Linked DNA regions of Homo sapiens: regions 2 and 3 are each linked to region 1. The links are contacts of gene promoters, found by promoter capture Hi-C in blood cells and fetal thymus (Javierre and others, 2016). All regions are on one chromosome and are shown on one strand. The core of a region is centred on a gene start or on the middle of the fragment in contact, and the rest is flanking DNA. Distances in the headings are between cores, read along the strand shown. Region 1 holds the start of TADA1 (transcriptional adaptor 1). Region 2 holds the start of RCSD1 (RCSD domain containing 1). Region 3 overlaps POU2F1 (POU class 2 homeobox 1).

Region 1 (4,270 bases), core at 624-3,123:
ACAGTAATTAGGGTGAAAGCTGTCAATTTTACCTATTAAAATAAGTAAGAATATTTAATTCAATAAGCACAGTGAACATCAATATCGAAAGACAATTTTCGGTGGTACACTATAGTCGGGTGTGGTGGCTCATGCCTGTAATCCCAGAACTTTGGGAGGCCAATGCGGGAGGACTGCTTGAGGCCAGGATTTGAGATCAGCCTGGGCAACACAGCAAGACTTTGTCTCTGAAAAAAAAAACTTTAGCCAGGATTAGCGGGGCGTGCCTACAGTCCCAGTTATAGGCTCACAGCAGGGGAGGATCTCTTGAGCTCAGGAGATCAAGGTTGCTGTGAACTGTGTGATCAGGCCACTGTACTTCGGCCTCTGCCACAGAGCAAGACCCCAACCCCCAAACACAAAGTGAAACATATCTCTGGGCGTAAATAAATGTTCACCAAAAATTAAATAATTATGCTAAAATAACAGTTTAGATTTTAATTTTAATCTTTTTATAGTTTCCATTATTATCTTGTTAGGATGAAAAGTAGACTGTCAACTCTGCCACCCCAAAATTTCACATGAAGGAAAAACTCCAAAATTCATGTATGACATCCAACCTAAGTAATTTCAATCCAGTAATAATAAAGAACAGAGAAGGATGAAAAGAAAGTATTGGAGAAAAATTAAGTATTCCCAAATTGCTCCTCCACCAACATCATTTAAAAGTATGCATCCACTGAGTAATGCAAATGTGTAGAATACCAGAGAAGCCATCTAGCAGCAACAACACAGGCACTGTAATTTTAAACGTTTATATTTGCTTCCTATATTTTTGAAAAATAAAGTTGTAATAACAACGTTTTGAAAATTTCCAAACTCTTCCTTGTATCCCAGAGGTTCCTTTTTTGCTCTTTGGCTTTGGCTTTGACTGGATACTGATTTTACCCTTGGCCATTCTGCACCTAACCTGACTGTGCACTAGGTCCCCTGCCATAACCTGGATGAAGGTCTGGCTGAGCGTCTCTGGGATCCTTTACAGCCCCTCTAATGCATCAGTCGGGAATCAAAAGCGTGGGTCCCAACTCTGACAGTGACTTTTGAAGAGTTACTTGTCCGCACTAGGTCTCAGTCTTCTCATCTGTCAAATGGGAATAACAACTGTACCTATCTCACATCTGTTGTAAGGATTAGATAATATATTTAGAGAGCTTAAAATGTTTAAAATGTCCGCTACTGCTATCATCACTATAATTGTAGTGTTCAATGACTGTGATTTCACCAGAGGGTCCGTCTGCCTTACGAAATTGCTGTCAAAAGAGCTTACCAATAATCCGTAGCAGATCACACCAGCTCAACAGGCCTCCACCTCCAGGAAGCCCTCCAGGGGCGGGCCGCCCTGCGCTATGCCCTCTGGCTGGACGCGTAGGGCTCCGGCTCACTCCGCCCAAGTCAGCCTCCCGCATCCCGCACGCCCGCGCTGGGGCCCGCACCTGCTCAGCAGGCCCTTGGGTGCGAAGTGCGCTTCTCCCGCCCCACCCAGGGCAGACAGTCCCGAGCAACGGCGCCCGCCGATGTCTCCCGGGCGCCCAGGAGGCCCGGTCTCTCCAGGGCGGTGAGTTCAGGTGGCCCGCCCCGCCCCGGCCGGAGAAACCCCGAAGCCCCGCCGCCGCGGACTCCAGGCTGCACAGGCCCCCGGGCGACGCGGGCGTCTCCGGGGCGGGCTGGCAGCCCGAGGCCAGGAGAGCACCCGCGTGTTGGCCTGGACGCTGTGCTAGGGCAGCTCTTACTGTTTCACGTTGTCCCCCAGGGCCTCGCTTAAGTTCTTCTTGGCCGCCTCCAGCTCGCTCACAAAGGTCGCCATTGCTCCGCGTGTCTCAGCCCGACCGCAGACCGCCCGGCCACCGCGATCAACAACCCAAAAACCAACTCGGCGGAAGGCCTTGGCTCTGGAAGCTAAGCCGGCCGCCGTCAGTCCCGCCCCCAATCTCTCAGAAGTCGTTTGTTTGGTTTTCGGCTCCGCCCGCCTTTTCGCAGGGAAGGTGCCCGGCCAAACTCTGCTCTCTTCCTCCCGCCCCTCGAGTCACGTGATCCGCTTCACCTTGTCGCGCGCCCATCCTAAACCCGCGCGCCCCGCCTCGGCTGCAACGTTGCTGACAGGCTGGCGTGTCCCAAGCTCTTTCATTCTGTTACCGCTGGGGCAATTCCGAATTCAGCCTGCTGTTCTTCTGCCTGGAGGAGTACCTTACCCCTCCATTTAAAAAAGTAAATGCAGTATCAGTTTTACTCTTTCCTTGCCTTATTTTTCCCCGAGCACTAACCGTCTCATATGACATTTAGTTGATTTATCTTGTAAATGTTATGGCTCGAGGACAGGAGTTGTGTTTTATTCACTGTTACCCGCAATTCTCTAGAGCAGCGCCTGGCACATAGTGGATGCTTAATAAGTATTTGAGTAAATGAGGTAACTATGTAAAATTTGGAAAATACACAGAAAGATAAAGATAAAAAGAAGGAAAAAGTGTTTTACCACTCCCGGACAAACACTTAACTGAGAGAGATTTCTCCTTCACTTCGCACACTCCCATGACTTAAAATATTCTATGTTCAATTTTGCACGTTTTTAAACTTAAGGATTTATCTGTAGTATTACATTGTCTTTAGAATAATTTTAATGACAACATATTAAATACCCCCACAGATAGAAGGTACACAACTTGTTTCCCAATTGTTAGACTGTGTCCATTTCTTCTCTATTAAAAAGCAATACTGTAATATTGCTTTTGAAGCATATAGCATAATGAAGCAAAACTTCTTTATGCATAAAACTTTTCCTCCTTTAGGATTATTACTTTAGCATAGAGTCCCACACATAGAATTACTGGATCAAATGATGGGAATATTTATAAATGCCTTGGTGTATATTGTCAAATTGCCTCCCAAAGTTTTTTAAATAATCCTAGATAGCTTTTAGATCTTGTGTAATTTCTCCAAAGATGTCCCCTTAAGTTCATTCATTCAACTTCCTCACTGCCCAACCTAAACCCACAAGCCCTGTCCTGGCTGCAATGCCAGCCGGGCACCTTCTCTTCACTTGAATTCATACAGTGAGCTCCTATTATGTGTCTGGAACTCTTTGAGTACTGGAGATACACAGGTGAAAGGAGATACAAAGGTCAGGCAAAGTCTTCCTCTCTGTGTCAAAACTCTGGGTAAGTTTTGACACATTTAAAAAATATCCACTTAAGTTTTCCATGGCTCCCCACGCTCTGCTGAACAAATTCCAGACTCCAGCATTCAAATGTTCTCATGATCTGAACTCACCCTACCTGTGTACCTCACACACCACTGGCCTTCCCACATAACCCCACACTTGGACTCAGCATTCTAGTTAACTTGACTTTAACAAATCACATGGCTCTTCCCCTTTACGCATATCTCCTCTCTGCTGGTTTTGAGACTTATGGTTGGCTACCTCCATTTTTTTTGAATCAGGTTCAAACATATATATGAATCTATTCAAGGATCAAGTCAACAGGACTAGGAAAGGCTACAGATAGTTGGGTACATCTTCCAGGAAGAATCCCTGTTTCTCATTTGTCTCTAGCCACGAAGAAAGATAGGCCTCAAAGATTTTCTTTTTGAACCCATGCTTGACAATACTCATACGTCTAGCTCAATTAAATATCCCTTTCTCTCTCAGCACTTATACACCTATTAACACTAATTTTACTACAGTTTTTCAGTTAAATGTCCATTTAAACTGTAATGTTAGACAATATAATATACATAAATGGACATCTGACCAAACAATTTAATATTGAGAGGTGAAGCCGCCTGGGCTTCTGGGCTGGGTGGGGACTTGGAGAACTTTTCTGACTAAAGGATTGTAAACGCACCAATCAGCGCTCTGTGTCTAGCTAAAGGTTTGTAAACGCACCAATCAGCACTCTGTAAAAACACACCAATCAGCGTTCTGTGTCTAGCTAAAGGTTTGTAAACGCACCAGTCAGCACTCTGTAAAAACACACCAATCAGCATTCTGTGTCTAGCTAAAGGTTTGTAAACGCACCAGTCAGCACTCTGTAAAAACGCACCAATCAGCGCTCTGTGTCTAGCTAAAGGTTTGTAAACGCACCAGTCAGCACTCTGTAAAAACGCACCAATCAGCGCTCTGTGTCTAGCTAAAGGTTTGTAAACGCACCAGTCAGCACTCTGTAAAAACGCACCAATCAGCGCTCTGTGTCTAGCTAAAGGTTTGTAAACACACCAGTCAGCACTCTGTAAAAAC
Region 2 (4,270 bases), core at 852-3,351, 750 kb after region 1:
CAGGAGCATGGTGGAGGCCAAGCTTGTTTGCTTTGTGGTCATCTGTTCTCAGCCAAGAGAGGCCTAAGCAGGGCGTGGGGAGCAGCTGCAAGTCACCTTGGGTGACTGATGTTATCTAGGCCTAACGGTTTCCTCTGGGTAAGCACTTCCGCCCTCCTGTTTGTGAAGCCAGAAACCTGTGCTGGGGCAGCCCCATTCTGAGCACAAAGGAGGACTAGGTAGAGGGAGAAAGGAAAAGGCCCTGTGGAGCAGAGTTAGAAGACCTGATAGTAGACTATGCAGTCATCACTACGTCCTGCACCTTTAAAAAGAAAGGAAAGAAGCACGAGCAAAAGTGTGCCTTGCAGGTTACCAGTAAATACCCTTCCTTACTGCCGACTCTGCTCTCGAGTCTTCACCTGAGCAGCCATGTGGCTGGACTGGGAGGGGCCTCACTATTAATTCCTGGGAGTGAGGGCTCTTTTCACTGGGTCCCCGAGTGCCTGTCTCTAAATAAAAGAAATATCAGGCTCTTATTCATCTGAAGCTTGTACATGGGGCTAAGCATGATAAAAACAGCCACTTTTTGCAGAGTGCCTACTACATTGTATAGGTGAGGAAAATGAGAATCAGAGCAGTTAAGTGACTTGTCTAAAAAATACAACTAGAAAGTAGCAGAGCTGGAATTCAGCCCTCAATCTGTCTGTTCCTAAAACCAGGCGTCTTCCTCTATGCTTAGCTAAGCTAAAGAACTAGAAGCCACTCTGGCATTAGGGCTGCCAGTGTTTTAGAAAGTTGGGCCTTAGAAAGTTCTAGGACAGGAAGGAGGCCATATTTCTAAGACTGGTACCCAAAGCAGCAATCTAAGTGCCTGAAAGTGCAAAGATGGTGCCGGGATAACCAGAATCAGGGTAGTCTTTGTAGCAGGAGCAGACTCTCAGCCTTTTTTCTCTACTGTTTCTCCACATGTCTCTTCACAGTGCTCACCATCACCTGTCCCATTGCCCACCTCTGATGGGGCTCCCCTCCCCTGGTTGAGCTGGGGTTGGGCGGGTGAGAATGCTGTGGGATAACCCAGAGGCGTCATATACCCAGCCAATACCCTGGCACTCACAGGTCTCTCAAGGCATTTTCCTGTTTCTCTCTGCCGAAGGGTCTGAAGGGGGCCGGGATCCGGGTAGCAGGGAGTGACCCTGGTGCAGATTCCAGTCCCCGAATCCCTCCCATGCGGTCTCTGCTGCCCAGCCGGGATGGCCCTAAAGGAAGGTTGCTATGCTGGGCCCTATGGGAATCAGATGTTGAGCATCTTGCCCTTTGCTATATTTAACAGGAATGGAGACGAGGCCCTTTAGCAAGCAGCTTGTGGGAGCCAAAATTCCCACAAAACCGAATGCATCAGTCAAAGCAAGGTTTGAAGAAAAGATTTACCACTTCAGGGAGCTTGGAAAACTTTGCGTGGATTCCTGATTTTCCTCCTCCTCCTCCTCCTTCTACTCGTATACAGAAGATAGATGGATAGATGGATAGATAGTGGTTTCCTGGAAGGTGGAGAGGAAAAGAGGTGAGAAGGGAAAGGTGGTCCCGTCGGCGCCACGCTGAGCTCTGAAGCCTCGGTCAGAAGGGCTCCTCTTTTGGTAGAACACAAACGCCTTCCACCAGGGAGGGTCCTCGAACTCCACCCAAGAACTGCAGGGAAACCAGGTATGACAGTAATGCAATTTTAAAAAGAGGGAGAGGAAGAAGGAAAGCAGGAAGGATGGACACAAAAGAAGGAAATCGAAAAGAGAGGAAACAAAAAGAATTAAAGGACCACTCTAATTCTTGAAGGGACAGGAAAAAGAAAGAAGGCGCATTAAGGGAGGGAGACGTTGAGAAGGACTGAGACCGTGGCAAAGCCCAGGGTCCTGAGAAACTTCGCGAGACAGAGGGGCCCGGTGGCTGCCCATCCCCATGTTTGGGCACATGGAGTCGTGGCTCCCGCTCTTGAGTCCTGCCCTGGGAGGGACAGTATCTGTTTAGATTTGCGTCTAAATTTAAACCCTGATCGTCGGCCTCCCTCCCCGCTCCCCACCCTCCCCTCCCCTCCCCTTCCTCCCTCCCTCCCTCCTCCTCCTTCCTCGTTCTCTCGCGCAGGGCCCCCGCGGCCGGGGCAGTCCCGCAGCCGAGCGCAGCCGGGCGCGCGCCACCGCCCACTCGCCCTGTGCCCGCCGCAGCCCGAAACTGGCCACGGCCGGGAGCGGAGGGGACAGCGGGGATCGTGAGCTCCGGCCCGGGCGAGCGGGTGCGTCTGCCGCAGAGTCGGCACCTGAAGGACATGGAGGTAAAGGACCCCGGAGGGAGACGCGGGGCTGAGCGGTGAGCGGTGTATCGGGCGCCCCTTCCCCGGGCGGCTGCCCCTGCCCTGAGCATGGAGCACGCGGCTCATCGCTGCTGCCAACTAGAAGGGCAAATGCCTGCTGTTCCGACGCCTCCTTGACCAACTCCGAAGGATCGTCCCTGGTCCCACCTAGGACACCCGGGTTGGGAGGCTGGGGTTGGTAAGGAAAGATCTCAGAGGGAGAGAAAAGGGCTTTCCTAGAGGCCCGGGTATTTTGGCTAGGAACTTAAATGCTAAAAAAAAAAAAAAAAAAAAAAAAAAAAAAAAGTTAGGTGCAGCCAAGGTTTGTAAATGGGTAAACGTGTCAGCAAAAACTGCAAGAAGGCAGAAGCCCTTCAATCTGAAGAGATGGGTATTGAAAGAGAAACAGAACTGGCAACACGAGGCCAGCACGTCTTCGTGGGTCTGTGGGCTTCCCTTTTCGCTTTCGGAGTGGCATTTTAGAGAGTCCAGTTGTCTTCTTGCTTCTGAAGTCCTTCCTGTGTCTGTCGCATCTTCTTCCATAACTTTCTGAAAGCTCCCCTTACTGGTCAGTCGAATGACATTATTTCTGATAAAACTTAAGACTCCCTTGGACACCCTTGCCTCTGAAGCTGTGTGTATGGAGGTATGCTGGCCACATCTGCAGGCTTTGCCAGAGGGAGGCCCCGCACTTCTCTGCCTGCTGAGAGGAGGTCCGGGGACTTTCCTTGTTCTGTTCCAACCTCAGCAGAGGAGTGGTTGGGTGTATTCCCCACATCCCTCTCTTCTGCACATCTTGAGGCTTCCCTGTGTTTCCTCCTTGAAAATGAGACCTGATATGTAGCCCTAAGTCAATCTTAGTAGGACCTGGGGCTTTTGAGAAGATGCAAATGTTATATAGTTTTAAAGGTGATTCCCACTCATATTCAAAAGGAAACATGTGTTGCTCACTAGACTGTGGTCAGTGCAATCAGGATTCACAGTTAACTCCGCTATCTCTTCCCCGCTCCAGGCTCTGTGCCTGGGCCCTGGTGGTCTTTTTATTTTTTTCTTTTGAGACAGGGTCTCATTCTGTTACCCAGGCTGGAGTGCAGTGGCACAATCTCAGCTCACTGCAACCTCTGCCTCCCAGGCTCAAAGGATCCTCCCACCTCAGCCTCCCAAGTGGCTGGGACTACCAGTGTGTACCACCATGCCTGGCTAGTTTTAAAATTTTTTGTAGAGACAAGTTCTCACTATATTACCCATGCTGGTCTTGAACTCCTGGGCTCAAGTGATCCTCTAAGCCTTGGCCTCCCAAAGTGCTGGATTTGCAGGCATGAGCCACACCACTCCTGGCCCTGGTTGTGTTTTCTAAGCTAGACTCTGTGCTTGCCGGCAAAGCTTCATGACTTCTCTAAAGGGGCAATAAGTTTGTCCTTTAGAGAAGTCAGGGAGCTATATTCAGGCATCCAGCCCAGCCAGTTGTCTTCAAGGAACAGGGAATCACCTTCAAGGAGACTTTATAGACTGCAAGAACCACTGGAGTCTAATATGGACCCTCCACAGAAACATTTGCAAGGCCAGGAAGCTCTGGCAGATTAGGGCTGGCGGTGAGGCACGCACACAGCGAAGCTCAGCAGGTGGTGTGCACACATCCACCCAAAGATCACACAAACACAAAACAACAGGGTTCTCTCTGAGCTGGCCACTGCTTCAGGGCAGAGGAGGGAAATGGCCCAGGCAACACCCAGCTTCTTGGGTTGGGTGAAGTCTCCTTAAGAAATTGTTTTAGAAGTGGCTTCCCTCTTCTGGAAGTGTACAAACTGCCTTAGGCCCCAGGCTGCAGATTCACTATGATGTATGGCCTGTCTAACCTCTTGAAGAAAAGGATTGGAGATAAGAGAAAAGCAACTCTTAGACTTCAAGCAGGTTGCTGCTGGAGGGCCAAATGCAAGTGTCAACTTTGTTCTA
Region 3 (4,270 bases), core at 475-2,974, 520 kb after region 1:
CTAGTTGAAATTTTGGTATCTCCATGATTACATAAGGTGGCAAGAAGAGATTCAAAATGGGAAAGTATGTGGGACAGTATTGAACATTGTAACGATCAGGCCTAAAAGAGTCCTCACAGTAACACTGTGACTGGCTTAGGGATGGAGTTTATGTGGGACCCCGTAAGTGGAATAATTACTGACTCCTTGTCTAAAGCAGTTATTGGAGCAACACCCCAGAGTGAAGGCTTTAAGCACTGGTGAGATAACTCTGTCTTTCCTCTCCTCTTCTCCTGCTCTGTATTGTGTGTAGGGTGATGTTGGGCTCGCTATGGGGAAACTATATGGAAATGACTTCAGCCAAACTACCATCTCTCGATTTGAAGCCTTGAACCTCAGCTTTAAGAACATGTGCAAGTTGAAGCCACTTTTAGAGAAGTGGCTAAATGATGCAGGTAAGTGACTGTATAAGACATTTCTTTGTCATTCATTGGAATTTTACATGGGGATTGTTATATAAATTGGGGTTTATATTTCTTACTCTATTTTTGTTGTTACAGAACCTTGAAGCTTACTAATCCTGGGAGGATCATTATAAATTATGGTGATATAAATCAGAAAGCTGATTCATTTAAATATTCTAGTAATTACAGTATAAATAATTAGCCGTAATTTTTAGCCTGAAATACTCTTGTATTTGAGCCAGGATTAGGAACACACACACACACACACACACAGTTGAAGGAATAGGATAAGTAAGGCTTTTGTATTTAGATAAGCTTGAAGTAGAAGCTTATTGTTTCTTCCTTGATGAATTATCATAGAACTTGTTCTTGCAATAGTTCTGCTTTTGTTATTTCAAATGACCACACATTTCATTCAGAAAAGTTGGACTACTAGCTTTGTCTTACGTTTTTTTGTGCTGAGAGTTCCTTTTGGAAGATTGGAATTTTGAGTCACAGGATCATAGACTATGAAAGCTGTAGGAGTCATGTAGATCCCTTAAACTATGGTTCTTATTGTAGATATGAACAAAAATTAGGCCTTTGGAAAAGACAAACCTGAAACACGCATCCTTGGACAGTTTTATTCAGTAGCTATGGGTGAGGCCTAGGCATCTGTTTCCCAAGTCCACAGATAAGAACCACTGGTTTACTGTTTCCATCTTATTTTACGTGTAGCAGAAACAAACTCAGATGTGTATGACATGCCCAAGGTTATTAAACTGTGAAATTATAGAACCCTGTGATTTAACTTCAGAGAATTTATAAATATTTCATTTGTTTCTTTTCTTTTTACCCTAGATTATACCAATAAAATGAGAGGCCATTTACAAGATAAATATTAAACGTTCAGTAATTTCTAAGAAACTTTCTTCCTTTTATCCCCAGAACTTATAAACAAACAGAACTGGAGACATAGAGCTGAGTTTAAGGATAGGAATAGTAAACCTCTTCTGTCTCAGAAACAGAAATCCAAACATAGTGGTAATATTGTCAACCATCCTAGCAGAAAGAATGCCAATAAGGGCAGCAGAAATATCCATGGTAGTAAATATATATATATTGGGGGGATGGGTGGTGGGTAGGGGGAGACATGGTCTCACTCTGTTGTCCAGGCTGGAGTGCAGTGGCACCATCTCAGGTCACTGCAGCCTCCACCTCCCAGGTTCAAGTGATTCTCCTGCCTCAGCCTCCCAAGTAACTGGGACCACAGGCGCACGCCACTGTGCCCAGCTAATTTTTGTATTTTTGGTAGAGATGGGGTTTCACCATTTAGCCAGGCTGGTCTTGAACTCCTGACCTCAAGTGATCCTCCCGCCTCAGCCTCCCAAAGTGCTGGGATTACAGGTGTGAACCACCATGCCCGGCCAATAAGCAATATTGTAATGTAGGTTATGTGAAAACCTTTTCATACTTGGATGTAGCTTATTTTGTCAGTTTTGTTGTTAATATGCATATTATGCACATGAATCACTGTGCTCAGCTAATTTTATTTCTGTATTTTCTTCATTCTTACAGAGAACCTCTCATCTGATTCGTCCCTCTCCAGCCCAAGTGCCCTGAATTCTCCAGGAATTGAGGGCTTGAGCCGTAGGAGGAAGAAACGCACCAGCATAGAGACCAACATCCGTGTGGCCTTAGAGAAGAGTTTCTTGGAGGTCAGTGAGGATTTTACTTTTCTGTACATGGGATTGTCTGTGTAGTACTTAACATTAGTACTTAGTAGAAACTGTAGGTGGTAAAAGATGACATGTCAGCCTCTGCTCTTATGGATGATTATAAATAGGTGAAGTAAGTAAGTTACTAACATAGGAGACAGAACCAGAGTTCTGCAGGGTTCAGGAGAGACTAGAATCACATCCATGCAAGCACTCAGTATGAGAGAGGTGGCAGCTTACCATAGGATACATAGGAATTAATTCCACAGACTAGAAAAGGTGGGGGGAAAGTACTTTAAGCAGAGGAAATGCATGAGCGTTTCCCCCTCAGAGTGGGGGAGAAACACTGGAGTGAGGGAAACCATAGGGTGTATGAGGAGACACTCTAGTAGATTGGTTGGTTAAATTGTAGTGTCTGTATGCCTGGAATAGTAGTTTGGGACTGGAACACTAGAGACCTTGAGTGTTAGGCTATGGAGCTTAAGTTAATGCAAGAGATATTTGGCAATTATTTTTTTGTACCAGGTAATATCATAACAAAGCTTTTAAGAAAATTTTGACTTCTCTAATTCAGAAAAGACTTGAGCACATTGGGAGGACTCTGAATTAGGAGTTTTTGTCAGCTCTGCCACTTAAACTGTGTGATTGGGCAAATCATGTGATTTCTTTAAGCTAAAGGTCCTTCATTGTGAAATACCTGCCTTTCTTACTGTGAGATCCAAATTAGATAGCATGAAGCATGGAGAAAGGTTAAATTCCTACTAATACATGTGGTTGTACTGGTATTTTGTTAATTTCATTCACAATTAATAGATCTTAAAAATGAAAAACTATAGATATTTAAGGATAACTTATCCTAAGTTAATATGAATAAGTTTAATAGGTGTATGTTCATTAGAACTTCTATCTACACAATCTCTTTGTTGAAAGTGGCCTAATGTGGATGGTCATATGTATCCCAGCTTCATTTTCTAACCTGACGTGATTATGCCAGTAGTTCAAAAAGTTATTGCAAAGGATAGCTTTTGGAATTACATCTTTTCACCCTGCAGAATCAAAAGCCTACCTCGGAAGAGATCACTATGATTGCTGATCAGCTCAATATGGAAAAAGAGGTGATTCGTGTTTGGTTCTGTAACCGCCGCCAGAAAGAAAAAAGAATCAACCCACCAAGCAGTGGTGGGACCAGCAGCTCACCTATTAAAGCAATTTTCCCCAGCCCAACTTCACTGGTAAGAATAAAAAATAGGGAGTGCAAGCTCAAGGGCTAATTTTTGCAATTTTACAAATGACCTGTTAAATCAGTTTATTTCATAATAGTAATTTAATGAATAAATACATCAAATAAATGCATGTAAATTTGTATTTTAGACATTACCAAGGTAATGAAATTCTCATTCTCTCTTTCCTTGTCTCTCGTGCTCTCTCTCTCTCTCTGCTGAGGTCACTGGTCTTGAGGTGCCCCTGCATGGAGGGTGAAATCTCGTGTTGTTATTAACCCAAGAACTTATTGGTCTTGCTTATTTTTTATTTATTTTTCTATTTATTTTATTTTTTTGAGACAGAGTCTCATTCCATCACCCAGGCTGGAGTGCATTGGTGCGATCTTGGCTCACTGCAACCTCCGCCTCCTGGGTTCAAGCGATTCTTGTGCCTTGGCCTCCCGAGTAGCTGGGATTATAGACGTGTACCACCATTCCCGGCTAATTTTTTGTACTCTTAGCAGAAGCAGGGTTTCACTATGTTGGCCAGGCTGGTCTTGAACTCCTGACCTCAAGTGATCCCTTGGCCTCCCAAAGTGCTGGGATTACGGGTGTGAGCCACCATTCCCAGTCTTTTTTTTTTTTTTTTTTTTTTTTTTTTTGTTGAGACAGAGTTTCACTCTTGTTGCCCAGGCTGGAGTGCAATGGTACGATTTCAGCTCACTGCAACCTCCGCCTCCTGGGTTCAAGCGATTCTCCTGCCTCAGCCTCCCAAAGTAGCTGGGATTACAGGCGCCCGCCACCAGACCCAGCTAATTTTTTTGTATTTTTAGTTGAGACCAGGGTTTCATCATGTTCTCCAGGCTGGTCTTGAACTCCTGACCTCAGGTGATCCACCTGCCTCAGCCTCCCAAAGTCCCAACGTGCT

The links. The method cuts DNA at HindIII sites, captures the fragments that hold promoters and counts their contacts. A CHiCAGO score of 5 or more calls a contact.
Region 2: a contact is called between the fragment with the promoter of RCSD1 here and the fragment with the promoter of TADA1 in region 1, in 3 of 17 cell types (fetal thymus, activated CD4 T cells and monocytes). The highest score is 6.7, in fetal thymus.
Region 3: a contact is called between a fragment that was not itself captured here and the fragment with the promoter of TADA1 in region 1, in 1 of 17 cell types (naive B cells). The highest score is 5.4, in naive B cells.

Annotation. Positions count from the first base shown.
Region 1 is chr1:166,874,391-166,878,660 of GRCh38, forward strand. TADA1 (transcriptional adaptor 1) reads right to left here and starts at 1,874. Exons shown (of 8, transcript NM_053053.4): 1 at 1,770-1,874. The coding sequence starts at 1,843. RefSeq lists silencers at 1,331-1,730, 1,761-1,810 and an enhancer at 2,211-2,260. The HindIII fragment of the contact is 11,749 bases long and covers 1-4,270 here.
Region 2 is chr1:167,628,131-167,632,400 of GRCh38, forward strand. It overlaps RCSD1 (RCSD domain containing 1), which reads left to right and starts at 2,102. Exons shown (of 7, transcript NM_052862.4): 1 at 2,102-2,299. The coding sequence starts at 2,294. RefSeq lists enhancers at 71-240, 251-300, 2,819-2,888 and silencers at 1,959-2,038, 2,059-2,278. The HindIII fragment of the contact is 3,174 bases long and covers 525-3,698 here.
Region 3 is chr1:167,395,994-167,400,263 of GRCh38, forward strand. POU2F1 (POU class 2 homeobox 1) reads left to right here. Exons shown (of 16, transcript NM_002697.4): 10 at 293-434; 11 at 2,001-2,140; 12 at 3,193-3,372. Among named protein-coding and RNA genes, the nearest start is that of CD247, 120 kb to the right of the region's middle. The HindIII fragment of the contact is 1,911 bases long and covers 770-2,680 here.